2 separate regions of the Homo sapiens genome follow, and region 2 is linked to region 1. Evidence: promoter capture Hi-C in human tissues and cell types (Jung and others, 2019). All regions are on one chromosome and are shown on one strand. Each heading gives the region's core, a stretch centred on a gene start or on the middle of the fragment in contact. The rest is flanking DNA. Distances are from core to core; before and after follow the strand shown.

The links. The method cuts DNA at HindIII sites, captures the fragments that hold promoters and counts their contacts. A contact is called where the count stands out against the background at its distance.
Region 2: a contact is called between a fragment that was not itself captured here and the fragment with the promoter of PTPN3 in region 1, in 2 of the 25 tissues and cell types used here (aorta and small bowel).

The regions. Positions count from the first base shown.
Region 1 is chr9:109,496,519-109,500,773 of GRCh38, reverse strand. It overlaps PTPN3 (protein tyrosine phosphatase non-receptor type 3), which reads left to right and starts at 2,467. Exons shown (of 26, transcript NM_002829.4): 1 at 2,467-2,555. The HindIII fragment of the contact is 6,343 bases long and covers 230-4,255 here.
Region 2 is chr9:109,462,541-109,466,795 of GRCh38, reverse strand. PTPN3 (protein tyrosine phosphatase non-receptor type 3) reads left to right here. Exons shown (of 26, transcript NM_002829.4): 2 at 3,345-3,499. The coding sequence starts at 3,362. Among named protein-coding and RNA genes, the nearest start is that of PTPN3, 34 kb to the left of the region's middle. The HindIII fragment of the contact is 5,519 bases long and covers 1-4,255 here.

The sequences.
Region 1 (4,255 bases), core at 1,218-3,717:
TTTTTTGTAAAGATGGGGTCTTGCTATGTTGCCCAGGCTGGTCCTGAACTCTTGGGCTTAAGCTACCTTCTCACCTGGATCTCCCAAAGTGCTGGGATTACAGGCATGAGCCACCTCACCCGACCTGTTTTCTGCGGTTTTTTTTTTTTTCATTTAACATTGTACCGTGTTTTCCCTGTTGCAACATGGTCTTTTTAACTTAGTGTAAGATAGTTATTATTTCAACTAATATACCATAACCTAATTAATCATCCCTCTGTTATTGAGTACTTAGTTTGTTTCCAATTTGGGGAGTATTCTTTCATTTTGTTCCTGCTTCTGTTATGGTGATTTAAAACGCATGATTTTTAAAATATTTAGGTCTTTCCTTTAGGTGTAAGCATGTTCCTAGCTCAAAGTTGAGGGCATCGTTTAAGCTAACAGCTGTTAGCTGTGGGAAAAGAAAAGGTAATTTCAGTCTAGGGGTCAGCAGATTAAGACAACTTCGAAAATTCACACATCCTCCGTTGACCTCGGTTTCCTCATCTCAGCAGTTGGCAAACTGGCATGAGGATGACGGCTGATTTTGGTAGGCACTCAAGAAATGGATCTTTAAGGTGGTCTAAACACGTTCACGTTCCTTATTTCACTCAACTTCCACTCGGGTGCCCAGATCGAAGCGTAGGTATTCACAATGGTTGAAGCACAGAGAGGATAAGGCAGTGGGGAAAGGACAGAGAATGCCTCCTGCTGAGCCCGGGGGCGCTGGGTGGAGCTCTGCGGGGGGCGTCGCCTGCCCCTCCAGGGGGCTCCTCCTTCCGGGGGCTCCGGCCCCGCCCGGCTCCGAGCATGCCCAGTGCGCTCCCCGCCCGTCCGAGTGGTGCTGAGCGGGCGCCGCGGCTCCAGGTTTTGCTGGCGACTCGAGGCCGGGCCGGGCCGGGCGGGGCGCGGGCGGTCCTGCCCCTGGACTCCGGGCTCCGTCGGAAATCCCCCCGACGCGATGCACGGGCGGCACCCGCTGCAGCGGCGCTATCCCGGGACGTGCGACTCCGGGACAAGGACCGAAATGAGGTTCCAGGGGCTGCCGAGGCCTCAGTCTATCCCTGGAACGACTGCCCCCAGGACCTGGCACCCAGGCCCGACTGGAGGGTTCCAACCATCTCTGCATCCCTTCGTTCACATATTCAACAAATAATGTTTGAGCGCCTAGTGTGTGCCAGACAGTGTTGCAGGGGGGTCACTGCAGTAAAGACAAGCAGAGCTACAGCCCCAAAGCTGACATTTAGGAGGGAAATACAACATGAGAATTAAACAAATCGGAGGAAAAGCCAAAGTGACCAACCTCATCTGCTCCTCTGCCTCCTTGCCGTTCCCTAAGCGGTCCGGCGCTCTTTTGGGTCTTGGCACTGGCTGTTCCCTCGGCCAGGAATGCTCTTCCCTGCTTATCTGCGTGGCTGAAATACCACTATCACCTTCTCAGTGTCACCCAATCAGACCGTCCATCAGCTCAAGGGCCCTATCCGACCGCTTCACTGAAAATTCACTGCTTACCTCCAGCCCCAAATCTCCTGACCCTGCTCTTTTTCCTCTTAGAACTTATCACTTTCTAATATAATGCATAGTTTGCTAATTTGCTGTTTATCTGTTACCTGTCCCTCTTTCCCCAAACTCCACTGGGGGACAGAATTTTTGTCTATTTGTTCCCCACGCGAGAAAAACCAGAATAGGTGCTCAATAAATATTTGCTGAAAATGGATAAATCACTGTTAAATGCTATGAAGAAAACAGAGTACACGGAGTGGTCAGGAGCAGAGGGCTAATCGAGGAAGGTGGTCAGGAAAGGCCTCTCTGAGGAGGGGACCTATGTACAATGAGAAGGCGCCGGCCACGTGAAAAGCTGGGCAAGAACGTCCCACAGAGGGAAAGGCGGGCGCCAATGTCCTGAGGTTAGTGAAGTTCGAGTGTTTGATGGACAGAAAGGCGCTCTAGGATCCGCAGGAAGGCAGGTGTGAGATGAGACGGAGGTGGGAAGCAGGAGCACAGATCAGGTAGGGGTCCCACGAGCCTTGGGGAGGTTTAACCAGGGAAGCTTACTAGTGCCAAGGGACGAGCACTGGACTGGAAGTCAGCGGGACCTCAGCTCAACCGCGCACCCGTCGTGCAAGACTCCTCATTTCAAAGTTTCTTTGGGCGCCGACTTCTTGCCTTCCCTAGGCATGAAATCACTGAGGGCCTGGCACACAGTAGGTGCCCAGTCATGGCTGTGGAACGAATGGCTGCATGCATGCGCGAGGGAACTCAGGACCTGCCCGGAGCTCGGCGGAGAGCCCCGGTGCCCCTAGGAGATGCGTCGGGGCGCGCCAGCCCGGGGCGGGGGCGGGAGAACACCGCAGGCCAGCCCGGACGCCCGCCCCCCGCCCGGCGCGCGGGCCCGTCGCGGCCAGCCCGGCCGGCGGGAACCGCCCGCGGGCGGCACTGGGCATGCTCAGACGGCGGCCAGGTCGCGCCGCGAGCGAGCTTCCGCGCCGCCCGCACGCGCGACCTACCTGGGCGCTCCGCGCCCCCGGATGCTGCAGGTACGGGCCCGTGCGACCCCAGCGGGCCGGGGGCAGGGTGCGGGGCTGCCGGGGGCCGGGGTCGCGCTCGGCGCCACCCCGCCCCCACCCGTCCCTGGGGCGCGCGGCGGACGCGCGGGCGGGCTGGCGGGTGCGGCTGCACCGGGATCCCCGCACCACGTCGGGGCGGGGAGGGGGCGCCCCGCTGCGCTCACCTGGCGGGGCCGGGGCGGGAGGGCGCGGGCGGGGCGCCGGGTGGGGCTCGGCCGGGGCGGGCTGGCGGCCGGGACGCGGCGCCGGAGCGTGGGCGTGCGCTCCAGCCGGGCAGGGGCGGGCGCAACCCGCGGAGCCCGTGCGTCCGGCACCTCCGGAGGACCCCGTGCCGCCGCGACCCCGGCTCGGGGCTCCGAGGGGGCACACAGCCCGCGGGGAGCTAGCCGAGAGCGGCTGCCAGCGCTCGGCTCCCAGGGCGAATCCGCCTCTCGGCTTTCAAAGATGGCATTTCCTGGGCCTGGCACGAAACTCCAGAGCCAATAAATCCTCCCCGTTCCGCGGACGATATGGAATGATTTATCAGGTACCTGCGGTGAGACAGCTGCAGATGGGGGAGTGTATGTGAGAGTGCCCAGCCCCCCCGAAATTCCCATTTTCAGCTACCTAAACTTACTGAGAAGTTGCGGTTGCCTTAAAAATTCATGGGAAGTTGAGACAACTTGACACCTGGGTTTTCCAAGCTGGTGGAAAGAGCTTGTGACTTGGAAACTGGAGACCTCCGTTCAAGTTGGGCTCCCCCTTGGCCAGCTGGTGACCTTGGCAAGTTGTTTAACCTCTCTGGTCCTCAGTTTCCTCCCTTGCAATCAGCTGGTAATAATGCCCACCTCGCTGGGTTGTTGAGTGGATTAAGTGGGATAAATTATGTGGAGGTGTTTGGCACCGTGCCCGGCACAAAGCTAGCAAGCAGTTGGCGTGATGTGAATTTAATTCGTTTAGAGACCCTCGTGGCTCTCATTTCAGGAGGAAATTAGAATTAGGAAACCATCTTCAGGGCCTAGTGGTGGAGTGACAGACCCTGTCTCTGTGCCCAGGAGAACTTCTGCCGAAGTCAAGGCCTTCGGAAAAACAATTTAGCCGAATTGTAATCAGAGAGCATCTCCTTTAAAAGCAGTTTTATACATTCAGAAACTCCAGAAGTTGGCAGTTGGCTTCACTTACAAAAGAGCTGTTTTGCAAGATGATCCATCTTGCAAATGTTTAAGCAGATGATGGGAGAAAGTAAAGCCTGCTTAGGAAGATTTCTGTTTTAAAAAGCTCCCAAATCCAACTTTAAGCGATTATTTAGATCAGGGTTTCTCAGCCTTGCACTATTGACATTTAGGGTTTGATAATTCTTTGTGTCCTGGGCATTGTAGGGTTTAGAAGCATCCCTGGTCTGTAGATTCCAGTAGCAATTCCTGTTCCCCAGTTGTTCCAATCAAAAATGCCTCCAGTATTGTCAGATGTCCCCTAGGGAGCAAAATGCCACCCCAGCACCCCTTTAGAACCACCAATTTAATTCTTGCTTTCTGTCATTAGCCCGAGTTGTTTGAGAATTTCATCTTGTGCTTTTGTAATAACTAACCTTTGCATAGCCTTATAGAACTTACAGAGTACATTCACCTGTATCGTCTTATTTAATCTTTACAACTCCCTTGTGAGACTGGTGTCACTCCCATTTTACAGAT
Region 2 (4,255 bases), core at 751-3,250, 34 kb after region 1:
GCTGAGTCACCTACTACTCCTTGGTACTGACTCCCAAATCTTTTCTCTAGCCATGCCCTGACATTAGGCGCTACTTTTCCAATTACCCGTGACTTGCGTCTGCCAGAATGGACCCTGGCAGCAGCAGCTTGGTCATCACCTGGGAGACAAGATGCAGACTCTTGGGTCCTATCAAGACCTACTTGAATCAGAGTCTGCATTTTAACAAGATCCCCAAGCACTCTGTATGCACACTGCAGTGTGAGAAGCACTGGTCTATGGGACATCTGTCTCCCCTCCCCTCTGCATTCCTTCTTTCTTTTCTTGCTTGCTTTCATTTTTTAAGAGATAGAGTCTTGCTGTGTTGCCCAGGCTGGGCTCTAATGCCTGGGCTCAAACAGTCCTCCCACCTTGGCCTCCAGAGTAGCTGGGACTACAGGTGCACACTACCGTAGCTAGCTACATTCTACTTAGACCCTCCCCCATTTTTCTCTGTCAAATTTGTCTATCCTGTTGTATTGCTATACGGTATTGTTGTACTGCAGTACTGCTATATAGTCTATGTTATATAGACTATAAAATTTAGCTTCATTTTCTATTTCATTCTTCCTTCCATTCATTCGGACATTTACTAACTCTACCAGACCTAGGTTTGGAGGTACAATGAGCAAAAGCAGACCTAGCCTTGTGGGGCTTCGCATCTAGTGGGAGAAGCAGATATTAAATACACATCATGAGTTCTAAGTGTGAAATGAGGGTAAGCACTAGTGAGTGAACTCTGTCACACAAATCTGTGACTGGTTAGGGAGACCAGGGAAGGCTTCCCAGAGGAAGTGATGCTTGTGCTGAGCACTGACGATGAACTGGAGTTAATCAGATGAAGAGGAGCAGAAAGAGCTTTGCAAGCAGAAGGAATAGCCTATGCAGAGGCCCAGCTCATCAGAGAAAGTTTGTGGAGAATTAATAAAAAAAAGTTAACTTACTCTCAGGCCCTTCATCTTTATTTGCTCTTCCACCCAACACTGTCAGAGTTATATCTTCACCGTTCCCTGAGCCAATTTGATTTGTAGAATTACTTCACATATTCTTTTTTTTTTTTTTTTTTTTTTTGAGACAGAGTTTTGTTCTTTTTGCCCAGGGAGTGCAATGGCGAGATCTCAGCTCACTGCAGCCTCCGCCTCCTGGGTTCAAGTGATTCTCCTGCCTCAGCCTCTGGAGTAGCTGGGATTACTGGCGCATGCCACCGTGCCCAGCTAATTTTGTATGTTTAGTAGAGATGAAATTTCACCATGTTGGCCAGGCTGGTCTCGAACTCCTGATCTCAGGTGATCCGTCTGCTTCAGCCTCCCAAAGTGCTGGGATTAGAGGTGCATGCCACCATGCCTGGCTAGTTTTGTATGTTTGGTACAGATGAGGTTTCATCATGTTGGCCAGCTGATCTCGAACTCCTGACCTCAGGTGACCCGCCCGCTTCGGCCTCCCAAAGTGCTGGGATTACAGGCGTGAACCACCGTGCCCGGCTGCTTCATGTATTCTTTGTAGAAGCCTAGATCCTCCCACCTACGTGATATAGTCATGTCCTCAGTTGCACACCTTTCCAGTCTTTTTGCCTACCTCTCCACCATTGAAATCACCGGTTAAACCAGTTTCCTTACTGTTCCCTAATATCATGGTCAGATTTTGAATGCCCTCTAATTCTCTCTTCATAAATATTATACTCTCTTTTTCAAAAAAGTAAACTTGTTATTAAAACATACATATGGAAAAGTACACAAATCATAAATGTAGAGCTTGGTAAATTGTCACAAAGTGAGTACACCAGTGTCATTAGCACCCACATCACGAAATAGAATGTTAAAAGCATCTCAGAAAATGCATCTCCCCCTTCCCCTCACTACACACAAAGGTAACCATTATCCTTTCTTCTATCAGCATTGATTAGTTTTGCCTGTTTGTAAACTTTACATAAATGGAATCATGCAGCAGATAATCTGTTGTGTCTCATATCTTTTGCTCAATGTTAAAGCAATTGATTCACGTTTTGCATGTAATGGTAGTTCATTTCTTTCTTTTGCTGTATAGTAGTATATGGTATGACTGTACCACAGTTTATCCGTTCCACATTTGATAAATGGGGTCTTTTCCAGCTTAGGATTATTATGAATATTCTTTTTTGTTGTTGTTATAAATTATGATTTTATTAGATACATATTTTGGTCCAAATCTTTGAATTGTCGTGACTTTAAAAAAAATTTTTTTTAGCTTACAAGTTCTGAGTACATGTGCAGGTTTGTTATATAGGTAAATTGAGTGTCTTGGAGATTTGGTGTACAGATTATTTTGTCAAATGCGTCATAAGCATAGTACCCGAAAGGTAGTTTTGCAATCCTCACCCTCCTCCCACACTTCACCCTCACGTAGGCCCTGGTAGCTATTGCTCCCTTCTTTGTGTCCATATGTTCTCAAAGTTTAGCTCCCACAAGATGCTGGTACATGTCTTTTAGTGAGTGAATATACATTTTTCTGCTGGGAATGTGCCCATGACTGAAATTGTTCTATCACAATAAATGCATATGTTGAGCTTTAGTAGATACTATTCAGCAGTTTTCCATCGTACAGTGGTTGCACTGAGTTATGCTTTCACCAGCAGCATGTGAGAGTTCTGGTTGCTCCACACCCTCCGTGGTTTTGCCAGTCTTGAATCATAGGGGTTCTCTGGTGGGTGTGTGGTACTATTGCTTTGTGGGTTTAATTTGCATTTCTTTGACAGCTAATATGGTTGAGTACCTGTTTTTGTTTTCTTCCTGTTTTCTAAGGAGTTTTCTGTTACTTCCTCTCACTAGGTTAGCAGGAGCACTCCATATATTCTTGGCAGATGTATATATTGCGACTATCTCCTCCCACTCTATCGGTTGCCTTTTTGCTGCCCTAAATGGTGTCTCTCAATGAATAGAGGTCCTTAATTTTAATATCAGTTTATCAATGAGTCTTTTCACATTTGAAATCATATTTATACCATGTTTAGTTCTGTAAAACCTTAGAGGTAGAACACAAATACATAAAATTGTGAAACATAAATAAAAATTTAAAAGCCTGGGAAATATAAATTAGAAGACTCAGACCAGGGAGTTAATAAGACATGCAAATAAGCCACGTAATTCTGTGAACGTACAATTTAGCAATACATATTGCTTAGAGCATCTTAGAAGTCAAAACTCAATTGGAAACATGATCTGCTATGTAGTTCTCATTATCTGTGAGTCCGTCAGACAGTATCGAGAGGATGGGATCTGACAGGTATCTGCACTCACAAGTAACTGACAATTCGCATATTAAAGCACTAACAGGTATATTTTATGTTACAGGTTATTCAGCGATAGTTATGACCTCCCGGTTACGTGCGTTGGGTGGAAGAATTAATAATATACGCACCTCGGAGTTACCCAAAGAGAAAACTCGATCAGAAGTCATTTGCAGCATCCACTTTTTAGATGGCGTGGTACAGACCTTTAAAGTTACTGTAAGTTCTCTACTTTTTTTTTTTACTTTTCCTGAATTAATGCTCCTAACAAATAGTTTTCATCTCTTGGCTCACAAAATGAAGAAAAAAATATTTTAAAATGAAAGCTTGAGATCTCAGATCTTGTATGTTGAGATTGCACTGGAAATACTTAAAAATGTTGCCCCAATTTCACCTCTGCCCTGAGGGTCTTCCCCCCGCCCTTCTGTGTGGTGTGAACTGTTTGACGCTCAGATGTTGGTGCTTCTGGGAAGTCCTCATCCACTTTCTGAAGGAGACTGGTTTGGGAAGTGGATGAGGACTCCACGGAAGCACCAACATCTGGAGGCATCATGGCACCCTATATATGCTTCATTAGAGCCCACGTCAGGTTGCATTTTTTCAAGTAGTGATTAGGGTATATGTTGCCCATGAAACTGAGCTCCTTGAAAACAGGAAAGAATAGAAAGGGTGTTGTTTCCCCCGTGCCTGGCACAAAGCTGGGCACACAGCATGTGCTCGTTAAATGTGTGAGTGAGTGGGTTGTGAAACAATCAGCCTCACAGATGGCAGGGCTTGGGGAGGTTCTGGCTCATCCCACTTAAAGCCCGTGGCAGAGCCAGCACTAGAAACGAGGTCTCCAGTCTCCCAGGCCAGCTGCAGGAAGATACTGGGACCATGGCTGCCTATGGTGCCCACCCACCCCAGTCACCACCGAGCCCGTGACCTTTGCCCATGACCTCTTCCATCCTCTGGCCAGTCCTAACAGGATCAGTC